Linked DNA regions of Homo sapiens: regions 2, 3 and 4 are each linked to region 1. The links are contacts of gene promoters, found by promoter capture Hi-C in blood cells and fetal thymus (Javierre and others, 2016). All regions are on one chromosome and are shown on one strand. Each heading gives the region's core, a stretch centred on a gene start or on the middle of the fragment in contact. The rest is flanking DNA. Distances are from core to core; before and after follow the strand shown.

Region 1 (2,654 bases), core at 76-2,575:
TATTTCCCCATCTTCCCCATAGAAAAATTGTCTTCCACCAAACTGGTCCCTGGTGCCAAAAGGGTTGGCACTGGTTTTAGCCACCCGGCCGCTGGTGTAAGCCACTCAGTTTGTGGTGCTTTGTTATGGCAGCCCTAGGAAACTAATGCACCTGTATTTCTTGGATTGATGGTTACTTGTAACGACATCTCTTAGGGATATTTTTTCAGCAGTCAGTCTGTATCAGGATCTGTAAGGTCCTTCTTTTCCAATTTCAAGGAAAGCAGGTCCAAAATCCCTTTCACCTAACTCTTAGTTGAGATGCTGTTCAAGAATGGAGAAGGTAAGGGGCCTCTCCAATATATGTGATTCTGGTTCCAATCTTCCAATATCTTACTATGCCCATACTATTTGTACAGGTTATAGGTTTGTGGAATAGATAGAGATCCTGATCTCTGTATCTATATCTGTATCTGATCTACATACTCTACATCTAAATCTGTTGAGCTTTTTATGAAACATAATACCACAAGCTTTTCCCCCTTATTTTGTAAAAGACTTGCTGAAAACACCATTTTAATAAAATTGTCATGTCATACACTCTCATATATTTTACCGTAATTTGCCCACTGTTAACACGTTGTTAGGCAATTGAAGGCCTTTCGCCTTTCTGCCACATCCCTTCAAATGAAGCTTTGCCCACATTTCAGAATATTTCCTTGAGATAGTGTACCAGAAAGGCTAAAAGCTATAAACTAGGCCAAAGGTAATAAACATTTTAATATTCCTAATACTTATCACCAAGTTGCTTCACAGAAAAGCTGGTTGTTCTTTCCTTTTGAATTTAATCACAAGAGAATAATCTTGGTAGCAAGAGTAAGAAGGTCATGGAGGGCATTGGAAGCATTAGTGTTCAACAGGCACAAGCAGGTAATAAATATCACCTTATGAAAAGCTCAAAGCCATGCACGGTGTTTGCATAACATGTTGCTAACTGAAGACCTCTCTGGTTCACAACCTTTCTGAAACTCAGCGTTTAAATGCAATATAGCCTATTAAATTGTCAGCTCAAGTACTCAGCAGAAGGCATCTCTATCTTCTTTGTTCTTGGGGATGTTTCTACTGACATGCACACTGGAGTTCAGAGATAATTTTCAATAAACTGTTGTCACTTGAAAATAAACAGTCTGGACAATGTATGGTCCATTTGGAGCACTGAGAAAATAAACAACCTAGGGTATGCTTCCTTCCTGTCTCTGTAGCCCTTTTTGGAATGTGTGTTCCAAATACTTCCCCTTCTTCCCCAAAGCAGGAGGTTTTATTTAAAATAAAGCTGTTTATTTGGCATTTCTGGGAGACCCTTTTCTGAGGAACCACAGCAATGAATGGCTTTGCATCCTTGCTTCGAAGAAACCAATTTATCCTCCTGGTACTATTTCTTTTGCAAATTCAGAGTCTGGGTCTGGATATTGATAGCCGTCCTACCGCTGAAGTCTGTGCCACACACACAATTTCACCAGGACCCAAAGGTGAGGAAAGAAAACCACAATTTTCATGTATAATAAATATGATATCTTCCCTCATCTCTGAACCCCTTCCTAGATTTCAATGACTTTCTCTTCTCTCCTCCCTAGTTTCCTCCCATTTTCCTTCTATTTTGGAAAATCAGGATTTTCCAGATCTGGTCTGTTACTTATTTAAAGCTCTCCTTTGATGTTAGGTAAGAGGATGTTGGGAAGGGGAAACCCAGGACGGAGATCTGAGGGAACTTACCCAGGGCAGGGGGAAATTCCCTGTTCCATTCTGCTCCGGGGCAGATGCACAATCCAGGCATGAGTCTCCAGAAGCCCTTTCCTTCCTTAAAAGCACCTCTATTATTGCACTGTTTGTACTCTCCTCCTTTCTAATACTGATGCTGGTAAAGCTGTTTAAGCAAAAGGTCAGTAACATAAAACTTAAATCTTAAATATATATTTCATAAGTTAATGGGATCCTGAGTTCCAACGTAGAGGATGGAAACATTTTGTCAAGCATTGAAGGTAGTATATAAATGAACATTTCTTTATTTGGAAGTGTAGTCTCTGGGGCCAAATGCCTTCTGCTCAAGGATGGTAGAATATTGCAAAATGTTCTCAAGTACAGCCAAGGTCCAAATATGCTTTAAGCAACCAGTAGATTTTAAAAAATCTATTTTTCTGGTTTTAGCTTTCACCCTTTTGTTCTGAAAGTGGTCACTGCACTGCAGATTGGTGCTCCCTTATTAGTAATTCATGCTGTTTCTCCAGGCTATAGGGTAGAAGAATTGCAGCTGCCTAAAATTTTAAGTAGAAAAAAGTGTTTTTCCAAAAAACAAAATTCAGAAATACATTGCCCCATGCCTGTCAGTTATTTAAATGTGTATTGCTTAAAGTGCATTTTTCTTAATCACTGAATTAATTTTCCTCTAAGATTGCAATCCAAGTTTTAACCTTTGATACGATAAAATAAATGCTGTGAGGAACAATGAGAGCTTAGAGCTTCCAAATAATTTCTTGGGTGAATAAATGAATAATGCGAGGGCAAATGTTCAGAAAGAAAGTTTTGATTAGAAATAAAGTATTTGCTTAAAACCGTTACTGAAGTTTCCTTAGAGTATAGGAAACTTTAGATTATTCCTGGGGTGTCATGGGGGCATT
Region 2 (2,654 bases), core at 110-2,609, 400 kb before region 1:
GAATCAATTGAATCTGGGAGGCGGAGGTTGCAGTGAGCTGAGATTGCACCCCTGGACTCCAGCCTGGGCAACAGAGCAAGACTCTGTCTCTAAATAAATAAACAAACAAACAAGTAAATAAAATTCCCACTTGCATTGCTTATCTATGACATTATACCACAAACATGGACTAAGCTGTTCTTGATCATATGGTCTTATATTGATAATATTTATATCTGTGTAGCTGTTGAGTAAAGCGTATGTTGACATGAACCCCACCGGAAATGAGGTTCTGCTCTGGGCTACTCCCTTTGGACCCAGTGTTTTTTAATGCAAAGGACTTGGCAGTAAGAACATCCATCTTTAGTGCCCAAATTGATAAAAAGCAGGGAAGGACTACCGATCTTGCTCAAAAGTTACCATTTACCAGTTACTTAAATCCCCTTTGAATTGACCCTCTTCTGCAGCTTAAATTATAAGCTCCCTGTCTTCAAATGTCTTAAAATCTCTAAAGCATCATGGGATGTGTTTCTTTGGAAAGAAAGCTGGAAGTTATGAGATGTGGAAAGAGTGTAGAATGGAGTGATTGAGGTTGTGAAGGTATAACCAAGAGAAAGGAGGTTCACTCACAAATGAGAGTTAGATTGAGCGATGGTAAATTAACCTTGAGGCTGGAGGAGGCAGTAGACATGCCATTTATCATTTCTCCTTGGTTAGAGATGAAGATGTGACAAGAATACACACCCAAAAGCAAAGCGACCCATGCTGTCTGTTCACTTCACATCTCAGGTGTTGTCTTACTCAATTTTTTGGCAGCATGACAACTTGGCCTCCTCCTCTCATTTTCTTCCCTTGGCTTCTGGAATCCTGGGCACTCCTTGTTTTCCTCTTATGGCTTTAACTGCTCCTTCTGATCTCTCCCAGGCTGGTGAAGTCACTCCTATCTTTGCTCCCATGATGACCTATGTCCACTTACTTCCTTTATGGTACTGGCTCCAACTACTCAAAGGTTTCTTTAGTTGTATCTTCACTGTATTATTTTTATATTAAATATATAAAATGATATTTTATATTAACTATATCTTTAATAAAAGTGGTATACTATTCATTTATGTCTCCCCAAATTAGACAGACACCTAATAGGGCATCAATAAGTGTTTACTCTTTTATTATTTTTATTACTTTAATTTTTTTTTTAGATATGGTCTCACTCTGTCACCTACACTGGAGTGCAGTGGGGTGATCAGGGCTCATTTCAGCCTCAACCTCCAGGGCTCCAGTGATCCTCCCACCTTAACCTCCCGAGTAGCTGGGACTATAGGTGTGTGCCACCACATCTGGCTAATTTTTGTATTTTGGGTAGAGATGGGGTTTCACTAGGTTGCCCAGGCTGGTCTCAAATCCCTGAGCTCAAGTGATCCTCCTGCCTTGGCCTCTCAAAGTGTTGGGATTACAGGTGTAAGCCACCATGTCCAGCCAACAAATGTTTGTTAAACTAAATTAATTGATTGATCCCATACACACTCAAGAGATCCAATAGAGAAATGAAGTAAAGGCCAGTGGGAAATGTCACCAAAAAGAATAGTGACTTACCTTTCTAATGTATGCAGTTGTCTTGCCACTTAAAAATATAGCTCTTTTTGATTACAGCACTGATACATATTTATTGTATTTAAGTAACTGGTATTGTAGAAGATCTGAAAAATAAAGAAACAAAGGACACAAAAGCAATGCACAAATCTACCACCCAAAGATCACCATTGTAAATAATTGTGTGTATTTTCTTCCAGGCCTTTTTCTAGGCCTAAGTCGGGGTATAGATATATGTAGGTATGCATGTGTGTTTGTGTGTGTGTGTATGTTGTGCATGTGTGTGTCCTTTTTTCAAGAGAATTTGGATCATAATGAAACAAACGATTTTGTACTCTTTTTGATTCAATATATTCTTATATTCTTTCACTTTGCAAATATTTGTTGAGGGCTTAACATAATGTACTAGGTACTATTTTAGGCTCTGGGAGTGCACCAGTCAACAGTATTTTGAATGTTTTTCTGAAAAACTTGATTTTAAATGACTTACTAATGTTTTACATTTTAGGTCAACTAAATTGGTTAATTTAACCAATTCCTGACTGTTGTTGTTACCATTTCACAGCACAATTAGTAATCTTGCAACAAGTAGCTTTATTCATAAATCTTTGTGTTTTTCTTTGATCATTCACTAGGATAGAATGGAAGTAAGTTCAAAGACTAGTTAACAAACTATAAAACATGAACTTTTAAAAAAAGTGTCCAGGGATACTTCAGTAAAAGGTTTTGGTAATTTATAAACCCCAATTTCCATCAGTGTATGAAGGAACCCATCTTACAACTCTCACCAGTGTAATTTGCATTTTCATTAAGAAATATATTTATCTGCCTATATATTGCCTCACGTTAGAATTATTTTATTCTAGTAGGTGTAACTTTCATATTCTTATATAAGTATTTAATCTTGTTTTTCCATTAATTTTTTATTGATTCTCATGGAATGTGGCTATTCAGGAAATATAAACTTAAACTTCCCTTTAATAGGAAACCCCTAAAATCCTATAGTAAGACTTTTTTTTTTTGGATCCAAGTTGTATTTTAGCTTACTAGCAGAGGTCCTGGGGTTTTCAAAATGGTTTCTTGCT
Region 3 (2,654 bases), core at 50-2,549, 310 kb before region 1:
TCATTAAACTTTTGAAACACCAGTACTTAGACTTCAAAAGAACGCCTCAGGGCTCTGGTCTCCTTCCTGTGCACTTAGCACATCTGATTTTGCCTTATTCTCCTGGTAAAGTTTTTGTTAAAGTTAGTTGTTAGCATGAGTAACATCATGAAGAAGTGGCACAAAAGCATGCAAAACTTGTCTGGGCTCAAAATATATCACAGACAAATTCTATTCAAAGTGGTGGTTTTCATGGTCACATTATTCTATAATCATTTACTGTCTTAGACTAGTGGGTCTGGTGTTCCACCTTGACTTTGTGTACTCTCATTCCACACAAACACTCATAGGCATAGAGTGCAGGTGGCCCCATGTCAGGTCCTAGGAGTGTCCCTGTATGAGCCATCCCATGTGGACACACACAAAGGAGTTGGGAGGAGATGAAAGTGCCTTTTTGGTAAAAGGCACATTTGATCTTTCACAACTACCACAGAGGACAAGGCAGGTTTCCTGGAAGAAGCACATGGGAGGGAAAAGGAAAATTAGAAGGCTTCATCTGAGAAGTTGAGGCTAAGCTTGAATTCCTAATTGCCAGAGGTCGTTTCCAAGAAGCATGTCTGTCTGTGGTGTACCAGCTTTCAGCTGGGTGGCTCCTAGATCATGTCTCTTTCGTCAACCAGGCTGATGGCACCAGCACCAGTAGCTTCCTTCCAGGAATGCATTGCCCATCCTCTCTGGTTTTCTGTTGAGTTGGCCTGGCCCTGCTTAAGAGAAAAATAATTGGTATTCTTTCCTCCTGTGTCGGGCAGTAATTTCCTTTTGAGCCATCCCTTACAACAGGGCCAGCCCTCTGCAAAATTATGCAGTAGACAGTTTGCTTTTTTTTTTTAAGTACAATTTCCATTTTATTTTTCTCCAGAGAATAGTCTATCTTCAGTCTTTAAGAACTCAGCTCCTTACATGGGCTTTGGTGGGGGACGTGGGGCAGCACCCACAGGTCTAAATCAAGGTGGGGGTGTTCGGTCCTTGCGGGCTTCATGAGATCGATTCCTGACTACTTTGCTGTGAATTGCACAACTCACACAGTAAGGTAGCTTCACATACAGCTTGGGAAGCTCATTGGCATCGAAGACGCTCGCTTCAGAAATGTCCCTGATTGCTGCGGCCTCCACTATGTTTCGAATGATGAATTTCTTAATGGCCTTGTCCTTGGGCATGCATCGGGCACAGTTAGTGCAGCGAATAGGCTGCACGTGGCCGCGGCCCTTTTTGGTGTGACCGTTGTTCCTTCTTTTCTTTGTCATCTTGGAGGTACGGACCGAAGAGAGGAGTGACTGTTTGCTTTTAAGCATTTAATTTTTTTCTTTTTTCTGGTGACCATCAGCCACATTAGCCTTCTCCCATTGGCCCAAACTTTCAGGACCATTGTTTTTTCTTAGGACAGTCAGGGATAGCTTCACAGTCATGACTATGGTACCTGTATCCAGCTCACAAACACTCCTTCCTTTTAAAATTGTTGATTTGTTTTAAAAGTTACCAGTTTTTTGCCTCATTCTACCATGTGCCAAACACTATGCCAGGTGCCATGGCTACAACAACAAATAAGACATGGTCTCTACACTTACAGAACACACAGTTTCATGAGACAAATAGGCAAGAATATCCAGTGTCACAACAAAGCTCCAACGGCATGAGACAGCATAAAACGTTGGAAGAAATGTCACTGTGGCATAGCATGGATAGCCCCTAAAGACAGAGGATTGTTCTGGAAAGGCCATTAAGGAAGCATCCTGTAAGGATAGGGATATGTGTAAGCCTTATTCCGAGGGCTGTGGGAGACCCCAAAGAAAGATATGCAAGAAGATGATGAGAACAGATTTGCAGGTTAGCAAATTGTCTCTTTAAAGCATAGTCAGGAGACAAGACCACTTAGTTCATATCAGAAATCCAGATGAGGAATTGGATGGCCTAGGATGAAGTAGTGGTAGTGTGGATAGAGAGGAGAGGACAGATTTGAGAGATATTTAGGAAACAGACATTGCCTGTATTGGTAATTTCTTATGCCAAAGCTTGGAGAGATGGTGAAAGAGATAGAGGAGTCTTGAATGGCTCTAAGAATTATGTCACAGGTGAGGGCATGGTGATGTCTTCCCAGAAACATGGTATGCACTAAATGGAATTGATTGAAGTCTGTTATTTTGATGGTAGTGGGTATAGATAGGGCTTAACTCAAACTCCCAAATTTATTAATCACTTCATATATTACTTTCTTATCAAAATGGCATTAAATTGATTTCATTAAGTTAAAATGTCTCTTTTTTATACCATTAAAGAATTTAGATAATGCTGGCAGTTTTAGAGACCATGAAAAATCAATTGAAGAAATGTTCTTTCATTGGCTGGGTGCTTGGGTGGAGCAGAGTGTGGAGCTGCCTGGAAGAATTTGCATAATCTGGTCTCTGGCCATTAGGTTTAGATGTGACCGTCACCCTCCCTGCACACTTAATTTTTCTCTCACTTTTTTTCTCCAATTTCTTTCCCCTCCAGCCTTAAATTTGTTATTTTATTCCTTCCTATTCCAGCATTGCCAAACTCTCCTCTCTGTACAATGTGCTCTGGCTACAGCACAACCTCCCAGCTTTGTGTATTTGTAAAATAAAAGGAAAAGAATGGGC
Region 4 (2,654 bases), core at 60-2,559, 290 kb before region 1:
CAAAATTGGCCAAAAGATTTCAGGTCTTCCACAAGCCTGAGAACAAATCCAGCCATAAACCCTTTAAATGAACCCCCAATATCCATTTCCCTTTTATTTCCTCAGGATGATCAGCCCTGACCCGTTATCTTGCGGTTCATTTCATGTTTGTTTAGGGCAGGGGTGTCCAATCTTTTGGCTTCCTTGGGCCACATTAGAAGAACTGTCTTGGGCCATAAGTAAAATACACTAACACTAACAATAGCTGATGATGAAAAAAAAATTGCAGAAAAACCCCTCAATTTTTAAGAAAGTTTACAAATTTGTCTTGGGCCACATTCAAAGCTGTCCTGGACCACATGTGGCCTGTGGGCCAAGGGTTGGACAAGTTTGGTCTAGGGCAACCCAAAGAAATTGTAATAGACTAGCACTAGGGGGATCCTAAGGGAACATGCCAGTTAAACTCTCCTACTATATAGACAAAAAATCCTTCTTTGGAGTTCAACTTTCCCTTGGGTTAAAGTGCTGGTTAGTGTGAGAAATGACAATGGAATTAAGGCCACCTAATTCAGAGTCTATGCCACTTACGGCAGCATATGGAGACTCTAGGAGCATTCGGACATTTGAGTTCCTTGACACCAGTCTAACCAATGGGAGATGCCCAGGGGAAATCCTCCAGTTTCTCCAAGATCCTCTTATGTTCTCAACATAGTAATACTCAACTTAACTATAGCTTCTATTATCTCTTGGGGAGAAATATTCAACAAAAGCAATTAAGGGGTAAAAACTCCATTGGTCTGGTAGGAATTTACCTCTGTCTCAGAACTAAAAAAAAACAAAAAACAAAAAAAGAAACCCTATTAACAGATCCTAGATGCTATTATATCAAGGGTCCCAGGAAATGATTGGCTTGAACACTTGAGGGTTTCAGAATAAAACCTAGGGAAAATGCATGGTGTCTCTAAACCTCAGGCAATTTGCTGTGGCTGCCAAGGCCTCCACAGAAAGCATTTTTCAATTGGTATATTTATACTTTCTTTACTTAGTATTGATTCTAAATAAGGATAAAACCCATCCTTGATGGGAAGCCTATGAGTAAGAACAGATGAATTAAAGTTTGTTTTATCTTCCCACTTTCCTTTTGCTGTAGCCAAAAAAAGCCTTCTCTTCAGGGGCAAATGGGATGTATTCTAGAGGCAGTAGTCACTGCTTTCACAACAACTAAATGATAAAATGGTTGGAGAGAGTCTAGGGCAACAGGAGCATTGGGTTTAGGTGCAGGTTCAAGGCTTCCTAAACATTTCATCTATAAAACTGGGTAAAATAGGCCATCTTGAAGGTCTGCAGGTCTCTGAACATCACCGCCCCAAGCTCTATATTGATGCCTAGGCTTGCCATTTTTTTTAACTCTATATTCCTCTTAAGACACCTGCTTTTGAGCCACTAATAAAGTACTCTAGCACTCTCCTCTCTCTCTCTCTCTCTCTCTCTGTCTCTCCTTCCCTCCCTCCTTCTCTCTGTGTCTCTCCATTTCTCTCTCTCCATCTCTCTCTCCCTCTTTTTCTCCTTTTCCCTCTCCCTCTCTCTTTTGGATCTTGCAACAGACTGACTTTACCTAAATATTTGCTGATTGGCTATTCGTGGAACTAATAATGATCTCTGGGCAATTTGCCATATGGGAGAAATTGGGTGGAGAGAATGAATGGCCAAGATATGATTGTTCAGACATCAGCTGCTCACGGCTGTATGTGTGTGCGTCTATGTGCTATAGACAAATATTAAGTCAGACCTGCTCAAACAGGAAGTGTGATAGTTTTTTAAAATTATGGTAGAGCTCAAGTTGATCTTTGCTTCAGTTATGCAACCAGGTTTGTAAAGATACAGGGAAATTTTGTCCATGCTTTAAAAGATTTAACCATCTTTTCTAACACTGGAGATTGACTTCCACATGAACATGATTTGCCCCTATTTGCAGCCTGTTCTCTATATCTCACCACACAGCTACTCTCCCCTGCAAGTTGACATTGCCGAATTTTTGCTGATATTTTTTTCATTCCTGATGCCCCCATTTTTTTCTACTCCTCCCTTCCCTCTATAAGTCCATGTATTGTATATGGTTCATTTTAAATGCCCTGAAGAAAACCTTCCCAAATCCTCTAGCATTCAAATCCAACATTTTCCCTCCCTGAGTTCCGTAATAATTTACTTGTACATCTAATCCAGTGCTTATTCCATTCTACCTGACATTATGGTGAGACGTTGAAAGAGGAATAGTGAGAGAATAGAAAGAAAACAGGCTTTGGAATTGCAGAGTGGGGTTTGGCTCTTGAAAATTCTAGCTGAAAAATGTTGGGCAAGTCTTTGAATATTTTTGAGTCTCAGTTTTCTTCTCTCTAAAATGGGCATACTAATCACTTTGCTGGTTTTTGTCAAGGTAAAAGAGATAACATATGTGAAGAGCCTAACACAATGCCTATTCTGTGGTGAGTAATAAATATAAGCTACTATCAATAAGAATTATATATGAATTTTATCCTTTTGTAACTTTCTTAGTGATTTGAAATGCCTAGAAAACTGTATCTGCTTCAAAATTGTTTGTTGAATAAAGAAACAATTCTCTTGACCTAGTTTAAATTCCTATTATCCATATATAGCTGCCTCAAATATTTCATATC

Evidence for each region. Contacts are between HindIII fragments. The CHiCAGO score rates a contact against its expected background, and 5 or more counts as called.
Region 2: a fragment that was not itself captured here is called in contact with the fragment with the promoter of COLEC10 in region 1 in 1 of 17 cell types (M1 macrophages); the score reaches 6.1 in M1 macrophages.
Region 3: a fragment that was not itself captured here is called in contact with the fragment with the promoter of COLEC10 in region 1 in 4 of 17 cell types (M2 macrophages, endothelial precursors, M1 macrophages and 1 more); the score reaches 11.4 in M2 macrophages.
Region 4: a contact is called between a fragment that was not itself captured here and the fragment with the promoter of COLEC10 in region 1, in 2 of 17 cell types (M1 macrophages and monocytes). The highest score is 5.3, in M1 macrophages.

The regions. Positions count from the first base shown.
Region 1 is chr8:119,065,922-119,068,575 of GRCh38, forward strand. It overlaps COLEC10 (collectin subfamily member 10), which reads left to right and starts at 1,326. Exons shown (of 6, transcript NM_006438.5): 1 at 1,326-1,508. The coding sequence starts at 1,361. It overlaps LOC101927513 (a long non-coding RNA gene), which reads right to left. Exons shown (of 2, transcript NR_134297.1): 1 at 1,753-2,654. RefSeq lists an enhancer at 1,301-2,500. The HindIII fragment of the contact is 2,529 bases long and covers 671-2,654 here.
Region 2 is chr8:118,670,264-118,672,917 of GRCh38, forward strand. All of the region lies in intron 3 of SAMD12-AS1 (SAMD12 antisense RNA 1), which reads left to right. Among named protein-coding and RNA genes, the nearest start is that of SAMD12, 50 kb to the left of the region's middle. The HindIII fragment of the contact is 5,440 bases long and covers 1-2,654 here.
Region 3 is chr8:118,760,917-118,763,570 of GRCh38, forward strand. It overlaps the pseudogene RPS26P35. Among named protein-coding and RNA genes, the nearest start is that of SAMD12, 140 kb to the left of the region's middle. The HindIII fragment of the contact is 1,494 bases long and covers 553-2,046 here.
Region 4 is chr8:118,778,597-118,781,250 of GRCh38, forward strand. No RefSeq gene overlaps it. Among named protein-coding and RNA genes, the nearest start is that of SAMD12, 160 kb to the left of the region's middle. The HindIII fragment of the contact is 4,138 bases long and covers 1-2,654 here.